Regions from separate parts of the Homo sapiens genome. Here all the other regions are linked to region 1. The links are contacts of gene promoters, found by promoter capture Hi-C in blood cells and fetal thymus (Javierre and others, 2016). All regions are on one chromosome and are shown on one strand. Each heading gives the region's core, a stretch centred on a gene start or on the middle of the fragment in contact. The rest is flanking DNA. Distances are from core to core; before and after follow the strand shown. Region 1 holds the start of ZC3H6 (zinc finger CCCH-type containing 6). Region 2 overlaps MERTK (MER proto-oncogene, tyrosine kinase). Region 3 overlaps SLC20A1 (solute carrier family 20 member 1). Region 4 overlaps POLR1B (RNA polymerase I subunit B).

Region 1 (5,182 bases), core at 1-2,500:
TCATTGCAATTGTTTTTGAATGCATTCCATTTATGTATTAGTAAAATGTATTATTAAGGAAAGACAAATTAAGTCAGATATTTGGATTAATCATTGAGTCTATCATTTTAGTAAAAAGCAAGGAACTTTCCTTCAGGACTAATATATTAAATAGGCCAAAACACTGACTTGTCATTTAAAAATTTTTTAAGGTCACTTCATAAGTATAAAAAACTCATGCATGGTCGGGCGCGGTGGCTCACGGCTGTAACCCCAGCACTTTGGGAGACCCAGGAGGGCGGATCACCTGAAGTCAGGAGTTCGAGACCAGCCTGGCCAAAATGGGGAAACCCCATCTCTACTAAAAATACAAAAATTAGCCAGGCGTGGTGGCGCGTGCCTGCAGTCCCAGCTACTCGGGAGGCTGAGGCAGGAAAATTGCTTGAACCCAGGAGGCAGAGGTTGCAGTGAGCCGAGAGCGCGACACTGCACTCCAGCCTGGGCGACAGAGGAGACTCCATCTCAGAAAAAAAAAAAAAAAAAAAAAAAAAAAAAAAAAAAAAAGGCATGCCTAATAGTATTTATAAAATACTCGCATACATTTTACATGTTAATATTATTACGAAATAAAGTAACGTTTATATAATTATTTCAATAGCTATTCCTATTTAAGTAATAATTGGGTAAATTTAACAGCAAATACAAGAAAAAACTGCATGGCAAGCTATTTTCCTTAAAACATGATTCTGAACACTAAACGTTACAAAAACAGATACTTGCTACAACTGTGAAGGAGAAACTGCATTTCCCTATTATTACAAGAACAAAGGTTTTCACAAAAAAATTTAAGGACTCTACAGCCGCCTTGTTCTTTGTTATCCCACCCCTGCCCGCCTCGGCTAACGGTTTTGGGGCCCGTTTGCTTGGTGCGTCTGGAACTCCTCGGGCGGCGGGCGTCTCGCAGGAAAAACCGCGGCCCGTACTGCGCCGGGAGCAGAAGCGCTGGTGGCCCTCGTAGGTCCCGTGGGCTGCCTCCCCCTCCTGCAGACACTCGAGGAGCCATCCGGCCGCGTCTCTCGCCGCCCGGCCCCGCCACTAGGCTGCCGCCTCCGCCGCTGCACAGAGAAGGGCGAAGACCCGCCCCTGCAGGTGATTGACGGGCACTCTCCTCCAATGGTCAACGCGCTCGGCCCCGGCGGGCTGGGCAAGGGCCGCGGCTCGCGGAGGAATCTCTCTTGCCCTTTAGTCCCGGGCAAGGTGTTGCGGCCGGCGCCATTTTCTCGAGCCGCCTGTTTCGGGTGCCGCCATGTTGGTGAGGAGAAATCACCGTTACGGCCACTGTCCAAATCCCCGCGTCGCTGCACGCCGCCCGCCCGCTCCCACGCCACAGCCACCGGCGGCGAATAGAGACTAGAGCGGCAGCGCCGGCAGCGCGGGGCCGTTGCCCAGTGTTTGCAGTTAGAGCCCCATCTCTCTGGCGTGGTTGTTAATAGACTGGAAAGTCTGTGTCTGTGTCGCTCACTAGTAACCGTGAGTTTTTACCACTTCGTCACCTGTCGGCGGCGGCCGGGAGCAGGTTCCCGCAGGCGGCGCGGGGGGTCTTCCCCGCGCCCCGCCGCCGCCGGCCTCGCAGACCTGCCCTCCAGCCCCGCCCCGTTCTTGACCAAACATGACAGACTCTGAACATGCAGGGCACGACAGGTCGGGAACCCTTCTTGTCTGTCTTTCTGTCGGATGAGAGGAGGGGTCTGGGGCGGCGGGAGCGGGCCGGGGCCGGGCGCCTCCTGCATGACCTAGACGTCTCTGTGTGGCTCCGTCAGTTCCATGACGCGCACTCTTATGTAAACTGCTGGATCGCGGCCGCGGGGGAGGTCGGCCCGGCCGCGCCCGCCTCCCCGAGCCGGGGTCGCTGCTCGCCAGCGCCGGCCCCGCCCCCGGCCGGGCACGTGCGAGCCCCCCGCCCCCCGGGCGGGCTCCGTGTGCGCCGGGCGGCTCTCAGCGTCCCGGCTCGGTGCTGAGGTCCTGCTTCTGCCCGTCCAGGTGTCGGTGCTCCCGGCCAGATAGGACCAGCCAGGAATTTTCAGGAATGGGTGTTTTGATATTTGACTGCTTCCCGAGAACCGAGAACACCTCTAAAAAAATAAACATTTGGTTTTCAGGGAAGTTTTAAGCAGCACCAAAAGGCCATCTGTTGTATACAGTCTTATCCCTTGGAATTTGAGATGGCAAGTTTCAAGTTTAATATGTTAACACAAAATACTTAGGCTTTGCAGAAACTTAGTTTAGCACAGTTTTACCCTAACGTAAAAACTCCATGGATTATTCCGGCTAGCCCAATTTTCTAGATGGTGTGTATCACTTGAATATTGAGATTCTGATTTTTTATTTTTTGCTCTGTGCCTTAAGAGGCACATTCTTGTTTCCATTCGAGTTTGGGGACATTTACAAAGTATACTGTAGCATACTTAAATTTTGGTTATAATTCAAATTTTCATTCGTATATATCTTTAATAATGCGAAAGGGGGGCTTTCATTCATTAAACTTACTGAAACAAAATCCATTGCATCTGATTCTTACTTAGAATATTAATTTGAAAATCTAGAACCTCACAATTACTCCTTTGTGAATAGAAGTAAGAAAAAATATACGTTTTACTATAGACTATATACATTGCTGAAGTTTTATCTGTAGTAATGTGATCGGCTTGGTAAAGCATCCTAAACACGTTTTTTAAAACCCAGAAGCAAAAATCACAAACACTGCTGAAATTTGAAATATCTAAATACCTAGCAATCTTGAGAGGGATAAAAATGGTATTTCAACAACTTCAGTATTGTAATAATAAAAGTAGATTCCCAGAGGGCACGTCAATCAAAGTGTAAAAATTTTTGGAAAGTAAAATGCACTTTTAAAAATGATAAGCTTGCACTTGGCACATTTTTAATGATTTTTTTAACGTTATCTTTTGTATTAAAAAGGAAATTCTTAGAATGGGTTGACTAATACCTTGCTCTTGAGGTATGGACAAACCAATGATGGGGTTTTGCTAATGGAGCCTAAAATCCTTTTTTTTTTTAATATGGAAGAATATCTGTTCCCCTCTCTTAGTGCACAAAGTAACTTCTATATATGGAGTTATGTATTGTACATCATGAAAAAACAATGCCATCAAATTCAAGTATCAAAATAATTTTGCTGGTAAGGAACTGTGATGACAGACCTTTTAAAGAATTTGAAATTTTAAAATACTGGTTTAGAGGTTAGAAAACTTTAAAGAATTATTTGTAAGATATGTTAATAGGTTGGTAGTAGGAGCTAAAGATTAAGATTAGTCTATTTTATTTAAAATTCGGACTAAAAGTATTTTCTAGTGATTTCTGAAACAAAAAGGTTAGCTCCACTTTAACTTAGCCAATTGTTAAGTGGCATCATTGTGCTGAGATGAAGGAGATGGTTTTTTTTTTTCATGCTTTTTTTGTCAACCCACATGAAAAACAAAACAACTACATCAAAAACAAAGTGAACTAGAAGTCAGGAGAAATTCTACAAGATCAGATCAATGGTTCTAAACCTTCCCTGGGGAACTTTTTTTCTTTAAAGTATTGGCGCTATTTCTGTTGGTCTGGACCTCAGCCTGGGTTTTAAGAGTTCTAAAAGCTCCCCAGGAAATTCTAATATGTGCCAAATTGAGAACCGCTATACTCGATCAGTGTTTCCCAATGATAGTTAATCATCAGAATCACTTTGGGGAATAAATTTTTGTTCTGCCCAGAGCAACTGAATCAGAATCTCTAGGGTATTTTTCATAGGCTCCCTGGGAAATTCTTAAGAAATTTGGGGAAAAAATGGACTAATCTGCGGGCTTCCAAAATACTGTATCTTTCCATATAATAGCTATTTTATGCTGTTATAAAAGTTTCTGTGAATTAAGTGGAGAAAAATATATGAAACTTGGTATATGGAGCTAGGCTTTGTCTCAAGGATTTTATTTTATTTATTTTATTTTTTTGAGACGGAGTCTCGCTCTGTCGCCCAGGCTGGAGTGCAGTGGCACTGTCTCAGCTCACTGCAAGCTCCACTTCCCGCCTTCACACCATTCTCCTGCCTCAGCCTCCTGAGTAGCTGGGATTACAGGCACCCGCCACCACACCTGGCTAATTTTTTGTATTTTTAGTAGAGACCACGTTTCATCATGTTGGACAGGCTGGTCTTGAACTCCTGACCTCAAGTGATCCACCAGCCTTGGCCTCCCAAAGTTTTGGGATTACAGGGGTGAGCCACTGTGCCCAGCCAAGGATATTCTTTTTATAACATTTTCAAAAATTAAGGCATATTGTGTATGCAGGAAAAAAAATGAAGCCTATGATTTATATTTACAATTGCTTTGATTTTATACAAATTAAAATATTACTGTTTATGAGAATGAGATTCTAAATGTAAATGGAATTCACAGAATGCATAATTTTTTTCTCGTTTAAAGAAATAGAGTCTCGCTATATGCCTAGGCTGGTCTTGAACTCCTGGGCTCCAGCCATCCTCCCATTTCAGCCTCCCAGAGTGTTGGGATTACAGGCGTGAGCCACCACGCCTGGCCTTGTACATGTTATATAGTGAACATTTTGCACAAGATTGTTTGCCAAATGAATAATTTAAAAAAAATCCATTTAGTGTACTTTCCTTTAAATATTTTCACACCTGGAGTTAAAACATTGTATTTTATAAGATGTTATTAATATAAAAATACTTCTAATTCTACTTGTGGCTATGTAGAATGTAGTAGAGGACTTTTGCATAAGCCCAGAGCCTAGTTTCTAAAGGTCTTTAGGGATTTAGGGAAATCAGAGGGAGGTATAATTCTGGTCTCTCGTCGTTCAGTTCTTTTTCATTCAGTTCTCTCAGGCACGACTCCAGCCGCTCAGTTTTATATTTCAACTGGATGTTGACCCAATTAAAACAATTCACAACTCCTGAAGACGAAATACTATGAGTCCCTGCTTTGGACACATCTGTAGTAGAGTAGGAAAAGATAAATATAACCCAAGTAATTGTTACAGAATTTTCTGAAATATACTAATGGTAAAAGGTTTTGTAGGGCTTGTACTGGGGAAAAAGATAATTTTTTAGCATGAACCTTTTAAGAGCTTGTGAGTCTCAAAGAGTCTTTAACTGATAGGTGATATGGATAATACTCCCCTTTGGGAG
Region 2 (5,182 bases), core at 1,855-4,354, 370 kb before region 1:
CCACCCAGCTGGAAGAATGAAAAGTTTCACCAATCGTTCTTGCACTTTTTGCTTTTGGTTTTGAACTTTACCTATGAGATGTGTGACAGTTTTACATCTCACCTTGTGAAAAGCTTAAAGAATGGGATTCTCACTGGCAGAATTACAGCACAAAGGAGTGCTGTATGAAGAAATTAAACATGGAAATTAGACTCTTCATCTAATTTTAAGATTTTCCTATTACACATTGTGGGTCTGAGTGCTTTGCTGACCACACAGGGGAGACAGAGAGAGAGACAATGAGAATATGTGTGTAGATTCTACACTGTTAGCAGTATAGAAGAATGGGTAAATAAAATTTAAGCATCACTTTAACCCAGGAAATCCCCTCTGCCCCCCAACACACATACACACTACACGTCTCACAAAGACATGCACACACAGAACTGGAACTGCCAAACCAGGAGCATTTCGAGGCTTTCCAGTCTTTCCTTTCTGCTCAGTCTCTGATGGGGGTGCCATTGAGCAGCAAAATGAGGCAAGCGGTGGCTCTCTGAAGGGCCAGGGAGAGGATGGAGCAAGATAAATATAAATGTGGATAAAAATGAATGCATTATGAGGACTTAGCTCATGACGAGGCTGTGTGTGCAGCTAAACTCAACCCTTAGAGTAAATTAGGCTTTTAAGATTCTTTAATGTTAATATTTCTTTTCCAAACTGATATTGTAACATGTATTCCAGTATATTGTAAACATCTTCCCAGAGGGAACTTTTAAGTTGTTCTGTTGCTTGTGGGCTTTATTCCAAAGGCTTCAAATGCTTTTTGAAAGTACATCGTGCATATTTTAAAAATGAATACTTTTAGAAAATTATTCTGACCCATTAAAGTGCTGAGTGGAATTCTTTTCTTTTCTTTCTTTCTTTTTTTTTTTTTTTTGGCAGGTTCTCATTCTGCCACCCAGGCTAGAGTGCAGTGGCACCATCACGGCTCACTGCAACCTCAACCTTCCGGGCTCAAGTGATCCTCCCACCTCAGCCTCCCAAGTAGCTATGACCACAGGCACATACCACCATGCCTGGCTAATTTTTTATTTTTTGTAGAGACAGGATCTCACTATGTTGCCCAGGCTGGTCTTGAACTCCTGGGCTCAAGCGATCTTCCCACCTTAGCCTCTCAGAGTGTGGGGATTATAGGCATGAGCCACCATGCACAGCTGAATACAATTTTTAAAAAATTAACAATAATTATGTTTTTTTGTTTTTGAGATAGAGTTTCACTCTTGCTGTCCAGGCTAGAGTGCAATGGCACAATCTCGGCTCACCGCAACTTCCCGCCTCCCGGGTTCAAGCAGTTCTCCTGCCTCAGCCTCCTGAGTAGCTGGGATTACAGGCATGCACCACCACGCCTGGCTAATTTTGTATTTTTGGTAGAGACAGGGTTTCTCCGTGTTGGTTAGGTTGGTCTCGAACTCCCAACCTCAGGTGATCTGCCTGCCTTGGCCTCCCAAAGTGCTGGGATTACAGGCATGAGCCACCACACCCAGCCAATAATTATATTTTTAAATCTTAATTTTTGAAATAATTTCCAGATAATTGTAGAAGGGCCAGTGAGTTACTAGTCAGCATTGGTCAAGAAGAGGTTCAATCTTTTTATGCCTGTGAATTGGGAACATGCTGCTGGGTAGAAAAACTGAGCTGGGACCTTGAACACACATGTGAAACAGTCGCTTTCCATATAATAGCCAGAATGAGATTTTGGAAACGAATCTGATTGTATTTTCCATTTGAAAATCTTCCAGTGGCTTCCTGTTCCCTACTAGAATTTGCAGAGACTCACAGCGAACCTCTTTGACCCATTTCCATTCACTTCCCTCTTGTTCCTACCACTCCAGCCACCTGTGTCTTCTTTCTAGGGCCTGAGCAGCCTTTGCAGTGACTCTTCCCTCTGGCTGGAACCTTTTTCCCAAGATCTCGGCATGCTGGCTTCTTCTCATCCTTTGGGTTTCAGTTCAGAGGTTCTCCTTGAGAAGCCTTCCCCAATAACCACCCCCTGCCAAAGTATCATATGCATACACCCCACTATCCCTTAAATTTAATTTCCTGATAATGCTTCTCACAACCTGATCAGTTCCTTCCTTCCTTCCTTCCTTCCTCCCTCCCTCCCTCCCTCTATTTCTTTATTGACAGAGTCTTGCAATGGCAAATTCTCTGCTCACTGCAACCTCCGCCTCCCAGGTTCAAGCAATTCTCCTGCCTCAGCCTTCCCAGTAGCTGGGATTACAGGCACCTGCCACCACAGCTGGCTAATTTTTGTATTTTTAGTAGAGACAGGGTTTCACCATGTTGGCCAGGCTGGTCTCGAACTCCTGACCTCAGGTGATCCGCCTACCTCAGCCTCCCAAAGTGCAGAGATTACAGGCGTGAGCTATGGCACCCAGCCTTACCTCTTTGTTTACTCCTTTTCCTCCACTGTCCCCCCACCACAAGGTAAGCTCCTGGTGGCAGGGCTGCTGTCTTTTTCACTGCTAACACAGCATGGAGCTCATACGGGTGCTCAGTGAGTATCAGAGCACAGCATGAAGGAACCAAGCCCCTGCATGTCTTACCAGGTGCTCTTCACCCTTATCTTTTCCTACTGGCTTTTCCAGAAACAGAATTGCTGGAGCTCCCATGCCCTCACATTCGGGGCTTGGTTAATAGAAAACAATCTTTTATTTTGCTGTGATGCCAATGTGATTTCATTGCTGGAGGAGCTAGTCAATTAAAACCAGACAGATTTTTGGGCTGTATTAACCCCAAACATATTTTACATTGTCCTAACTATTCCAACTAGAAAAAAAAATGTCAGAAGGTAATTTTTCATGTTAAACACAGTTCTAACAACTCCTTGCTCAGGGGCAGGTAGCCCTGGGTGCCTTGACTTTGGCCCTTGCCGTTAGTTTAATCTTAACCCAAAGCACATGGCTCTGAATTGGTATGTTTCTCAGCAGGAGATTAATTATTATAAAAACTGAAAGGGGTCTCACACTGTGTGAGGCACACTATGCCTCTGGGGACTGGAATGAAAGTGTTAACCGGGACTGGCTTCTGGGGCTTTGGGGGTGGTGATTAACTTTCAGGACCTCTGTTCCTTTTTGGGTACAGTGGGAGGCTCTTTTCATAGAATTGTTAGGAGGACGTAATGAGCTAATGGCAGGTGATATGTGCTTAAAATATATTTGCCATTATTACCAATGGTTCTCCTCCATTCTTCTGAACTCAAGTATGGGGGAAATGTTTTTCCTAGACAAAAGGTGTTGGGAGGAGGGTTCTTTTCTTATTGAAGTGTATCCTGAATGGTCCACCCTCCATTGTTCAGAATGCTTTGGTGAAGGGGCCCTCCGGTGTCGCCCTAGAGTGCCCAAGTCCTTTGCTGCAGCTCTTTAGGTTTTTGTTTCCTAGTAGTTTGAGCAAAACCCACCCAGGACCAAGCAGTTCTCCAGAGAAGCAGGGCCCGCCCTGACTGCCATTCCCCTCCTACTCCTGCCCCCATACCTTCCCTTATGGAGTTCAAACTTGACATAGTACAGGAATAGCTTCTTGTCATGTGCCTCTCAGGAAGGTATAAAAATGAAGTCCAGTTCCTGTTCAACTTTTCCCACATAACTCTTTTCCAAACTGGGTGTGGTTTAAATTTTTTTATTTTTATTTTTTGTGTTTGTTTTGTTTTAGGGTTTTTGAGTGTGAACATCCAGAAAATTCTTTTTTTTTTTTTTGAGATGGAATCTTGCTCTGTCGCCCAGGCTGGAGTGCATGTGGCGCGATCTCGGCTCACTGCAACCTCCGCCTCCTGGCTTCAAGCAATTCTCTGCCTCAGCCTCCCAAGTAGCTGGGATTACAGGTGCCCTCCACCAGACCTGGCTAATTTTTGTATTTTAAGTAGAGACGGGGTTTCACCGTGTTGGGCAGGCTGGTCTTGAACTCCTGACCTCGCGATCCACCCACCTCGGCCTCTCAAAGTGCTGGGATTACAGGAGTGAACCACCTCACCCAGCTCAGAAAATTCTTTTCCTTTTTACCACATCGAGCTAGGTTTTCCCAATGAGGTCAGTTGGCTGCAACATAGAGAAAATGAGGCTTTGGTTCTTAGAGTAGATTCCGTGTACAGGCGTGAGTATGTGTCCGCAGGTGGTCTTGTAGGAAATGCAAAGGGCGCCAGGTGCACTCCTGGCTTCTGGTACTTCCTGCTTAATGGCATGGGTGAGCCAACCCTCAGGTGCCCGGGAGGGAGCCCTGATTACTCTCCCTCTGGCACTCTGGGCATTGGCTAACCCGTGACCGGAGTTAAACCAGTTCCCTCTCTTTTCATTCTATGTCTCCCACTCCTGCCTCCAGCCGAAGTGCTAAAAATGCAGCCTGGCAGGGGCAGAGAATTCCATTAGGATCAGCAGGCCCCTTTTGGAGAACAAGGATACTAAGAATACCTGCCATCCTGGCACTTCCTCCCTCCTAGGCCTTACTTTTCTCTGTCTGAACCATGGCTGTTGAACTGGGTGATTCTTAGCCACAGGAAGGGAGGGCCTAGATCTTCCCTAGTTTTGTGAGACTCTGCAGCTGGACAGCCATCCCTTCATGGGAGCTGCCACATTTTCACTCTCGGGGCCTCTGACAGGCACTAGGATCTAGGGACATGGCCGGCATGTGAAACCCTGGGCTGCTATGGCCAGGTCACCTCCTCAGGTCCTGGTGTTTCAGAGTGATAAAGAAGAAAGGGTGATTATGTCTCAAACATTTCATTGAGAAACCTACACTGTTCTTTTTTTTTTTTTTTTTTTTTTTGACATGGAGGCTCACTCTGTCACCCAGGCTGGAGTGCAGTGGCGCGATCTCAGCTTACTGCAGCCTCCTGGGTTCAAGCGATTGAACCCAGGGTTCAACCTCCTGGGTTCAAGCGGTTCTCCTGTCTCAGCCTCCCGAGTAGCTGGGATTACAGGCACCCATTACCACACCCAGCTAATTTTTGTATTTTTTAGTAGAGACAACGTTTCACAATGTTGGCCTGGCTGGTCTCGAACTCCTGGCCTCAGGTGATTGGCCCACCTCAGCCTCCCAAAGTGCTGGGATTATAGGCGTGAGCCACCGTGCCCAGCCAGAAACCTACACTCAATTCTAAAGCATTTTATTTCATCCTTCTTGGCTAGTTCTTCAATTATCAGTGCTTCTT
Region 3 (5,182 bases), core at 697-3,196, 370 kb after region 1:
AAGGGCTTGATTGACGTGGAGATGTACAACTCGACTCAAGGGCTGCTGATGGCCGGCTCAGTCAGTGCTATGTTTGGTAAGTTCTTTTTATGTTTTGTCCTCTTCGTGGTGGGTGAGCAAATTTGTATCATGGGTGGTTCCATTTTTGTGCATAACCTTTCCGATTAACCTTTCTGAATGTGCCACTTACATAATGGAATTTTGATATTTACTTAATAAAACTTTACTATGTTTCAGGTTCTGCTGTGTGGCAACTCGTGGCTTCGTTTTTGAAGCTCCCTATTTCTGGAACCCATTGTATTGTTGGTGCAACTATTGGTTTCTCCCTCGTGGCAAAGGGGCAGGAGGGTGTCAAGTGGTCTGAACTGATAAAAATTGGTATGTTTAATTCCAAACGGCTTCTTAATTTTCGTTTTCGTCATATGTTACCATGGCATTAGGTATGGGAGGATGTGTTCTAACGTCGAGGGACAGACCCAAGAATTTTGAACTCTTAAACATTTAAAGTGGTTTTTGGTTTCTGATTTTCATTATTTGATATTTTTTCTTAATGTGTTCTATTCCAGTGATGTCTTGGTTCGTGTCCCCACTGCTTTCTGGAATTATGTCTGGAATTTTATTCTTCCTGGTTCGTGCATTCATCCTCCATAAGGTAACCTTTCTCCCCCGTATGAAGACCTTTCATGGAGCACACCCAATCGATTTCAAACCCAGTGGTACTTTTGCAGATGTGATTGGTGTATAGGTATGCGGCCTTGGAAAATTTTAAAAAGCTCTTTGTTCTGTGCATTTCTTGTATGTTGTGGAGTTCTCTGAAAGCGAGTTTTTAATACTCAAGAGGGCAGTCAGGAAGGAAAAATTGAATACTATGATGTGCCAAGAAGTAGGAGAAACTGGGAGCAAAAAAATAAGGAAATTTATTTTGCGTGGTTTTGTGTAGCTGTATACACATTATTTGTTTAAACCACTGTTATATTCAGGCTAATATAATACGTAAACTTGGAGTTCAAGACAGTGTCCCCTGTGGCTTTTTTAACTAAGCTGCCAGTTAAATGGGTCTCTGCCGTGCTGATTATCATAACCAGTTTATAAGCTTCTAGATGAGGACTCTGCCTCCCATAGTGACTTGACTCCAATTTCTCAGAATAGTTGAAAAGAACCAGTTAAAGGTAGTTTTTGGCCCGCCCCCCAAAAAAACTTCAGGCAGCCATTTAATTTCCTGTCCATTTGAAAATCCCTTTTAAGTGACCCAGTTTGCATTTCTTTTATCAAGAAGTCTTGCTGGCTGCAAAATAAATGTTGACAAGGGATTATGTTGGCATAGGACTGAGTTACAGTGAGGATAAATGCATTTTTCTCAGGAAACAAAGTTGTCCTTTTTCTAAGGTGAATGGCTCTTAACAATCCATTGTAAGTTCTTAAAAGTGTTCCTAAACTGTAGAAATCTGAGGGAGATAGCATAAATCCCAGCAGGTAAGAATGTATTCAGACCCACTTGTCTGGTCTAGTTGTAAGCTTCTCTAGGGAAAGATTTGTCTCTTCTCTGTAGAAATTCTATGACTAGTAAAGTGATTCACTAATCACTGTTTTCCATAGCCAGAATCTGGCAGAATATAGCAGTTTAACACTTTGAAAACTTGAAATATCTTTAGCCTGGTATAATATGAGAGTAAACAGTTCATTGATATTTATGGACTCCTAAGTTTGGTACTGTTTTATTCAGCAGACAGGTACGATAAGCATCTACCTTCCCACTCCCTACAACTGTAGTGTATGATACTGGGATGCTTAAATTAGAGGCTCACCAGTAGTCATGGACCAGATTTTTTTGTTTTTTTTAGAGTTTTCATTAGAACTGTATATCTTGCTACTTAGCAGAGAGTCAGAAGCATTAGTAGGATCTCCTGTTGTGAATTCCTGCTTGGTAAAGGTTTATGCTGGCCCTGTGTTGATTATTGAGTAGCAGATCATTTTGTTTTTGGAGAGGGTTTGTGTGTTTCACCTCCACAAAACACTTATTCCCCGGAAGGGGAATGGTGGTGCTCTGAGGTGCAAAGAGGGATTCTCAGGTGCCCAGAACCTCTCATTTGAGGAATGCATACCCCCACGGTGTTATTGAGGGCTGAAGTTAGATACGGTAACTGATTTCTTAATTGTATATTTCCTATATGGGTATGGGAATGGGCATGATCAAATGATGAAGAATGATTGGCATAGTGTTTAAAACAATATTGACTTTGAGGATCTTCCCCCACTCTGTGCACGTGCACACACACACTCTTGCAGGCCAATCCCTCAGTAACAGGAGTTTTCAGTTGAGTATGAATATTTCTGCTTCCTTTTAGGAGTTAAATTTCAAGAAAATATCCTTAGACTGGTAAGCTTTTGGTATCTTAACTGCTAAAATCTGAATATTTGACCATTAAGATATATTCCAACTCTTAAATGTCTATCTTGAAAATTAAGATTAACATGACCTTTTTTTTTAATTTCAAAAAATTGCTTTTAAACATTTTCTATTCTCTGAATGTTTGTTCCAAGCATGTTGGGGATAGGTGGGAACAGACAGAATGGAGGTGAGGTACTTCTATTTAGGACTGGCATCGCACAGAAGGAATATGCTTCAGTGCTCCTGTTGAGTATTTTTAAATTCTAGTCAAAGAAAATAGGGCTTTTGGCATTCTCATTAGTTAGAAATATATTTAGGATGTCTTCCCTTTTCTTTAGACAAAACCAGAATATCCAATATGTAAAAGTGAACTATTCTGGTGAAGATGGGGGGTTTTGTGAAGACCTTTCCTGTCCCACATGACTAGACGATGAGGCATTCACATTATTTCCAGGTGAAGTTTTACTTGTGTGTTAGGTGGATCTCTACAATGATGAGACCTTTCTTGTTTTACCTTCTTCCTAGACTCTCTGGAACTTTTGATTTTTTTTTAACCATGAACCTGTATTTCACAATAAACTATTGGTATAGTAGTGTCATTCATACCCTACCCCATCCCCAACAACTTTGCGTAGAGAATACCTCAGATTTGTTTACCTCAGGGAATACTTAATTGGGCTATGCTATACAGGATAATAAATACACAGGCTGCTACTTCAGACTAGTCAATTACAATTTGATTTATGGATAATCATATTACGAAATATCTTTGAAAATCTATTGAGAAGTCCCCACATAATGTCTTTAAAACCCAGGAAATTTTTGGGGGTGGGAGTCTTGGGTTGGGTTTTTTGGAGCCTTTTTTTTTTTTTTTTGAGACGGAGTCTCACTCTGTTGCCCAGGCTGGAATGCAGTGGCACGATCTGGGCTTACTGCAACCTCCGCCTCTCGGGCTCAAGCAATTCTCCTGCCTCAGCCTCCTGAGTAGCTGGGATTACAGGCGCCACCACACCCGGCTAGTATTTTTGTATTTTTGGTAGAGACGGGGTTTCACCACGTTGGTCAAGCTGGTCTTGAACTCCTGACCTCAGGTGCTCTGTCCGTCTTGGCCTCCCAAAGTGCTGGGATTACAGGCTTGAGCCACTGCACCTGGCTTTTTTTTTTTCTTAAGCGAAGTCTCGCCTGTCACCCAGGCTGGAGTACGGTGACTTAATTGTAGCTCACTGCAGCCTTGACCTCCCAGGCTCAAGTGATCCTCCTGCCTCAGCCTCCAGAGTAGCTGGGACTATGGGTGTGTGCCACCACATCTGGCTAACTTTTTATATTTTATAGAGGTGGAGTCTTGCTCTGTTGCTTAAGTTGGTCTTGAACTTCTGGGCTCAAGCCATCCCCTGCCTCATCCTCCCAAAGTGCTAGGATTACAGACAGACATGAGCCACCACCACACCTGACCTGCATTTTCTTAAGACTAGTCTTTAGAATAAAAATACACACCTTAGTTTCCTAATCTTGTTGACTGCCCTCAGAGTTTGACCACCGTTGAGTTAGTTATTCAAGGATGCTTAACAGTTCTTGATTTCTGTATGCTATTGTTTTTGTTTTGGCTATTTCACTATCTGTTAACATTCTCTATTAAACTATAGATAAGAGTTAAATTTTAGAGTGGTTTTCAATGAGTGCTCATCTCTGCTAATTTGAAATGGTACCTTTACTTTACACATGGGTCTGAGCTTTCCCTTGTTTCACTGGTCTTAAGCTACTAACTTTCCAGTGTATTGATTATTGTTGGAAGCTGTAGGGTTTTACTTTCTGTTTTTCCTCCCCAAGATTTTCCACTGGAATTGTGATCAAGATAACATTAAACCTTTTAGGCTAAGGTCTTTATAAAGTTTTTAGCCTTCCCATATATGTATTCAGATCTTTGCTCCCAATTTTTTTTTTTTTCTGAGATGGAGTCTTACTCTGTTGCCCAGGCTGGAGTGAGGTGGCCCAGTCTCCACTGACTGCAACCTCTGTCTCCCAGGTTCAAGTGATTCTCCTGAGTCAGCCTCCAGAGTAGCTGGGACTACAGATGCTTGCCACCACATCCGGGCTAATTTTTTTGGTATTTTTAGTAGAGACAGGGTTTCACCGTATTACCCAGGATGGTCTCGATCTCCTGACCTCATGATTGTCCTGCCTCGGCCTCCCAAAGTGCTGGGATTACAGGTGTGAGCCACCGCGCCCAGCCTCCTCCCATTCTTTCGGTGTTTGACTTGGGTGTTCTCCTATAGAATTAATACATACTAGGTATGGTAGAATTCTTATTTTTAGTCACTGGCCTTACTGTTCCTTAAACATTTCAAGTTTTTGCCTTAGGGCCTTTGCATTTGCTGATATCTCTGTCTGGAACATTCAGCGCCCAAATAATCAGGTGGTTTGCCCCTTCTGTACCCATAGTTAATGTACACAGCTTGCTAGCTTACTACATTTATGTCATGCTTATTCCTTGACCCTCCCCACCCAAATGGTGCCCCCCCTTCCATCACTCTCCTCTTACCCTTCTTTATTTCTCTTCACAGCATTTGTCAGTACTTTACATTATTCCATACTAGAAGGTGAGTGTCAGTTCTATTAGAACAGGAACTTGGTCTTATTCCCTCCTATATTTCGGTGCCCAGAATAGCACTTGGCACACAGTCTTTTGAGTGAGTGGATGACCTTGTGCACAATCAGTTATTATCATTGAACTTCGGTAAAGCATTAATTGTGGCATCTTTGTCAGATGTTTAGATAAGATGGTTGGCGTACGCA
Region 4 (5,182 bases), core at 1,934-4,433, 300 kb after region 1:
TGATGGGTGTTGTAAAATCATTATCTGCAGATTCCAATGTCTGGGTCATCTTAGTATCAGTCTCTTTGAGTATAAGTCAAGTTTCACCATTTCTTTGTATGCCCAGTAATATCGGATTGTATTATGAACATTGCGAGGAGTATGTTTTAAACCCTGGATCCTGTTAGGGTCCTCTGAAGAGGATTGGTTTTGTTTGTTTTTAGTGTGGTGTTTGGCCTTCAATTACATTTTAATTTTTTTCATTTTATGTCTTTCCTTCTTAATACACAGTCCATCACCTGGTTCAGTGCATGTCACCAAAAATTCTCCAGGGGAAGAGGATTGGTTTTTAGTTTTCACTGGTACTTAACTTGGTGAACGTGGCAGTTGAAGTACATTCTTCAGCCTTAGGTGGGCTGCTGTGATCTGTCCCATGCATGCATAGTTCAGGAGTCCACCAAAGATTCGGACCCAATTTATATGCTGAATTTAAGGGTCTCCCTTTGTGGTTCTCTCATTTCTGAAATGTTCCCCCTTCCCAATTGTTGTCATGCTCAGAACTCTATTTCTTGGTTCTTCAAGCCAGTAAGATTGTGGGTTTCTATCTAAGTTGTAGCTGCCACACTGGGCCATAAGGCAAAAATAAATACATAAATACTTAAAAACCTGGAAATTCACCCAGTGTGTTCCTTTTGTCCAAGTAAAAATTCTTCTCAGCTTCTGACAGCTTTTGGTTACTCTCCAGTGCTGTATGTGTAGTTGGGGGTCTGCGTCTCATACTTATGTGTTGAGGGTGGTCTAGTAAGAGTAGCCCTTTATTACTGGAAGCTCTAAGTCTATAATTTTTTTAAAAATTTCACTTGTATGTATTTATATTTTAAAATCATTTTGTCGTGAAATGATTCTCTGTACTGTGAGGTAGTACACAGAGGAATCTCACCCCATGCTCCACTACTTAGAATTAAATACATATTCCGCTGTAAGAAAGTAATCTAATTACGTAATAATTCCTATCCCCTTTTCTTCCCCGAGTAGTGATAGCCTGTAATTTGCGTACTTCCTTTCTGTCCCCTTCTAAAGCTTTTATTACATCATACATGTATCCATAAACTAAGTATAGAATTGTTTGGGGTGTGTTGCAAATACACATAAATCGTATCATATTAAATGTCAGTCTGCACTTTCTCCCACTCAGCATGGTTTTCCTGGTCTGGTCACGTTGATACATTTAGGTTTACTTCATTTTCACAGCTTATGTATTAGTCTAAAGTAAGCATAACTACCATGACTATTTATTTGTTCATTTTCCTCTGATGGATATTTAGTTGTTTCCAGTGTTGCGTATCACACCTATAATCAAGATGAAAGCAGCAGAAAATGCTAAGATGTTTTTTCTCCATGTAGGTAAGCAAACTATGGGCTTTCCACTTCTCACTTATCAAGACCGATCGGATAACAAACTGTATCGTCTTCAGACTCCTCAGAGTCCCTTGGTGAGACCCTCCATGTATGATTATTATGACATGGATAACTATCCAATTGGGACCAATGCCATCGTTGCTGTGATTTCTTACACTGGCTATGATATGGAAGATGCCATGGTAAGTTTTACCAGGAAATGTTGTTCCAATCTTTTTATTTTTTAACTTGTTTGTTTACTGTGAAATCACTGAAGGAATATTTTTGTGTACCCAAGTACCTAGTATTTGGCACGTGATGTTCTATTAAATGATTAGTTCTTAGTCTAAGTTGAAAGTGGGCAAGCCTTGAGGAATATCCACTAAATATTCAGATACACGTATGTCTTGCATATTTGAGTGCATATTATGAGTAAATTTTGAAGTTTGGTTTTGGATCTATCTACCTTTTATATTTAAGTATGATTAGATTTTAAGCTATTTCTGTGTGCCTGGGTTTTTGTTTTTCTTGTTTTTTGTTTGTTTGTTTTTTGTTTTTTATTTTTGAGACGGAGTCTCGCTCTGTTGCCCAGGCTGGAGTGCAGTGGCACGATCTTGGCTCACTGCAACCTCCACCTTCTGGGTTCAAGCAGTTCTCCTGCCTCAGCCTCTCGAATAGCTGGGACTACAGGCACCCATCACCATGCCTGGCTAATTTTCGTGTTTTTAGTAGAGATGGGGTTTCACCATGTTGGCCAGGCTGGTCTCGAACTCCTGACCTCAAGTGATCCACCTGCCTTGGCCTCCCAAAGTGCTGGAATTACAGGCGTGAGCCACCGTGCCCAGCCATGTCTGGGTTTTTGTAGTTAGTATCAGTGATTTGGAAAATGTGAGGAAAGTTAAAATGTGATGCCAGTTATCCTAAACCAAGTATGATAGTCCCACCTAGTTTTATTTTGAAAATCCTCAATTGGCCTCAGTCTTTTAACGATTCTTTTACTTCACAGATTGTGAATAAGGCCTCTTGGGAACGAGGCTTTGCCCATGGAAGTGTCTACAAGTCTGAGTTCATAGACCTCTCTGAAAAAATTAAACAAGGAGATAGTAGCCTGGTGTTTGGCATCAAACCTGGTGACCCACGCGTTCTGCAGAAGTTAGATGACGATGGATTGCCGTTTATAGGAGCAAAACTGCAGTACGGAGATCCGTATTACAGCTACCTCAACCTCAACACCGGGGAAAGTTTTGTGATGTACTATAAGTAAGTTTGGGTATCCAAGCTGTTTTGTTTTTGTTTTTGTTTTTGTTTTGAGACAGGGTCTCAGTGTGTCAGCCGGGCTGGAGTGCAGTGGAGTGATCTCAGCTCACTACAACCACCACCTCCCGGGCTCAAGCAATCCTCTCGCCTCAGCCTTTGAGTAGCTGGGACTCCAGGCATGGACCACCATGCCCAGCTAATTTTTTGTATTTTTAGTATAGACGGTTTCACCATGTTGCCCAGGTAGGTCTCGAACTCCTGGGCTCAAGTGATCCACCTGCTTCAGCCTCCCAAAGTGCTAGGATTACAGGCCTGAGCCACCATCCCTGGCCTATTTGTGCTTTTTTTAAAAACTGTATTATCCAAACTTTGTCATCTTTCTCACATACAATGTTAGCAATGTTTCCTAGCCAAAATGTTGAGCTCATACCTCTTATTAGAAATGTCTTATTTTAGCTTATTTTACAATATAATTTATTTCAATAGGCTTTCATAATAATTTTTCAGTTGCTTTTGTTGCTAGTTTTCTTTCAGATGAACATAATTCTGTAGTGAATATCACCAATAGCTCTATTCATACCATCTCTGTTTGTATTGGAGAATAAAGGTAAGAATGAGTTTTGCAGGCCAGGCACAGTAGTTCACACCTGCAATCCCAACACTTTGGGAGACCAAAACAGGAGGATTCCTTAAGCACAGGAGTTCATGATCAGTCTGGGCAATGTAGTGGGGCCCTATCTCTACAAAAAAAATTTAAAGACTAGCCAGGCCTAGTGGCATATACCTGTAGTCCCAGCTACTCAGGAGGCTGAGGTGGGAGGATTGCTTGAACCCGGAAAGTCAAGGCTGCAGTGAGCTGTAATTGCACCACCGCACTCCAGCCTGGGCAACAGAGTGAGACCCTGTATCATAAAAAAAAAAAAAAAAAAAAAAGTTTTACAAATATCCTTTATGAAGCACTAATTATATCAATGAAACTTATCTCCATAAGTTAAAACAAATAGGTTGACCTTATATGGTTTACTTTTTCCTAGGAGTAAAGAAAATTGTGTTGTGGATAACATCAAAGTGTGCAGTAATGACACTGGGAGTGGAAAATTCAAGTGTGTTTGCATCACTATGAGAGTGCCTCGGAACCCAACTATCGGAGATAAATTTGCCAGTCGCCATGGGCAGAAGGGCATTTTAAGCAGATTGTGGCCGGCTGAGGACATGCCTTTTACTGAGAGTGGGATGGTCCCAGACATTCTGTTCAATCCCCATGGTTTTCCATCCCGCATGACCATTGGGATGTTAATTGAGAGTATGGCCGGGAAGTCTGCAGCTTTGCATGGTCTCTGCCATGATGCTACACCCTTCATCTTCTCAGAGGAGAACTCGGCCTTAGAATACTTTGGTGAGATGTTAAAGGCTGCTGGCTACAATTTCTATGGCACCGAGAGGTTATATAGTGGCATCAGTGGGCTAGAACTGGAAGCAGACATCTTCATAGGAGTGGTTTATTATCAGCGCTTACGCCATATGGTCTCAGACAAATTTCAAGTAAGGACAACTGGAGCCCGAGACAGAGTCACCAACCAGCCTATTGGGGGAAGAAATGTCCAGGGTGGAATCCGTTTTGGGGAGATGGAACGGGATGCGCTTTTAGCTCATGGTACATCTTTTCTCCTTCATGACCGCCTCTTCAACTGCTCAGATCGGTCGGTAGCCCATGTGTGTGTGAAGTGTGGCAGTTTACTCTCTCCACTGTTGGAGAAGCCACCCCCTTCTTGGTCTGCCATGCGCAACAGAAAATACAACTGTACTCTGTGTAGTCGCAGTGACACTATCGATACTGTTTCTGTGCCTTATGTTTTTCGGTATTTTGTAGCTGAACTGGCAGCTATGAACATCAAAGTGAAACTGGATGTTGTTTAACTTGATGTTGACCTTTTGGATTAAGAGGACTATCAGATTAAAGCAAAATGTAATTTTAATTCAATGAAGATATCATTACCAGGTTACTCTTGAGATTTTTCAACGGTGTTAGAACTCTCAACCAAGACCTGAAAACCAAGTATGCAAGGTTTCTGAATCTCTCTGGTAGATTAACTATTGACAATGATTTTCTGTTATCTTTGTTCAAAAAGTTCATGTCTTCTCAAAATATGAAATATTGATAAATGGAAGAGCATACGGTGACAAGTCTCCTTTCCAACCCCAGGTTCCCTACACCCTGCTCTCAGCAGGCAGTGAGTGTCACACACCTGTTAATCCATCTTGAGCAGGACAGTACTATACAAATAGAATGCAAGCTGTAATGTAATTTTATATTTTCTTATAGCCACGTTGAAGTAAAAACAAACAGGTACAGTGTTTTTTACCAGCTTTATAGAAGTACAGTTGTTACATATTTAATGAATACAATTTGATGGGTCTGACTATATGCACACACCTTTGATACCATCACCACAATCAGGGTAATAAACATACCTGTCATCTCCACAAGTTTCCTCCTGCCCCTTTGTTTTTTGCTTTTTGGTTGCTGTTGAGTTTTTGTTTTGTCTTC

What was found. The method cuts DNA at HindIII sites, captures the fragments that hold promoters and counts their contacts. A CHiCAGO score of 5 or more calls a contact.
Region 2: a fragment that was not itself captured here is called in contact with the fragment with the promoter of ZC3H6 in region 1 in 1 of 17 cell types (fetal thymus); the score reaches 5.8 in fetal thymus.
Region 3: a fragment that was not itself captured here is called in contact with the fragment with the promoter of ZC3H6 in region 1 in 2 of 17 cell types (fetal thymus and non-activated CD4 T cells); the score reaches 7.4 in fetal thymus.
Region 4: a fragment that was not itself captured here is called in contact with the fragment with the promoter of ZC3H6 in region 1 in 4 of 17 cell types (total B cells, activated CD4 T cells, neutrophils and 1 more); the score reaches 8.4 in total B cells.

Annotation. Positions count from the first base shown.
Region 1 is chr2:112,274,347-112,279,528 of GRCh38, forward strand. It overlaps ZC3H6 (zinc finger CCCH-type containing 6), which reads left to right and starts at 1,251. Exons shown (of 12, transcript NM_198581.3): 1 at 1,251-1,680. The coding sequence starts at 1,649. RefSeq lists enhancers at 953-1,525, 1,141-1,350 and a silencer at 1,541-2,020. The HindIII fragment of the contact is 12,828 bases long and covers 1-2,900 here.
Region 2 is chr2:111,900,660-111,905,841 of GRCh38, forward strand. The region is part of intron 1 of MERTK (MER proto-oncogene, tyrosine kinase); the gene reads left to right. Among named protein-coding and RNA genes, the nearest start is that of MERTK, 4.6 kb to the left of the region's middle. The HindIII fragment of the contact is 5,986 bases long and covers 112-5,182 here.
Region 3 is chr2:112,647,087-112,652,268 of GRCh38, forward strand. SLC20A1 (solute carrier family 20 member 1) reads left to right here. Exons shown (of 11, transcript NM_005415.5): 2 at 1-76; 3 at 238-378; 4 at 567-652. Among named protein-coding and RNA genes, the nearest start is that of SLC20A1, 3.7 kb to the left of the region's middle. RefSeq lists a silencer at 1-100. The HindIII fragment of the contact is 867 bases long and covers 1,514-2,380 here.
Region 4 is chr2:112,571,179-112,576,360 of GRCh38, forward strand. POLR1B (RNA polymerase I subunit B) reads left to right here. Exons shown (of 15, transcript NM_019014.6): 13 at 1,384-1,580; 14 at 2,384-2,637; 15 at 3,669-5,182. The coding sequence ends at 4,551. Among named protein-coding and RNA genes, the nearest start is that of CHCHD5, 11 kb to the right of the region's middle. The HindIII fragment of the contact is 4,253 bases long and covers 1,058-5,182 here.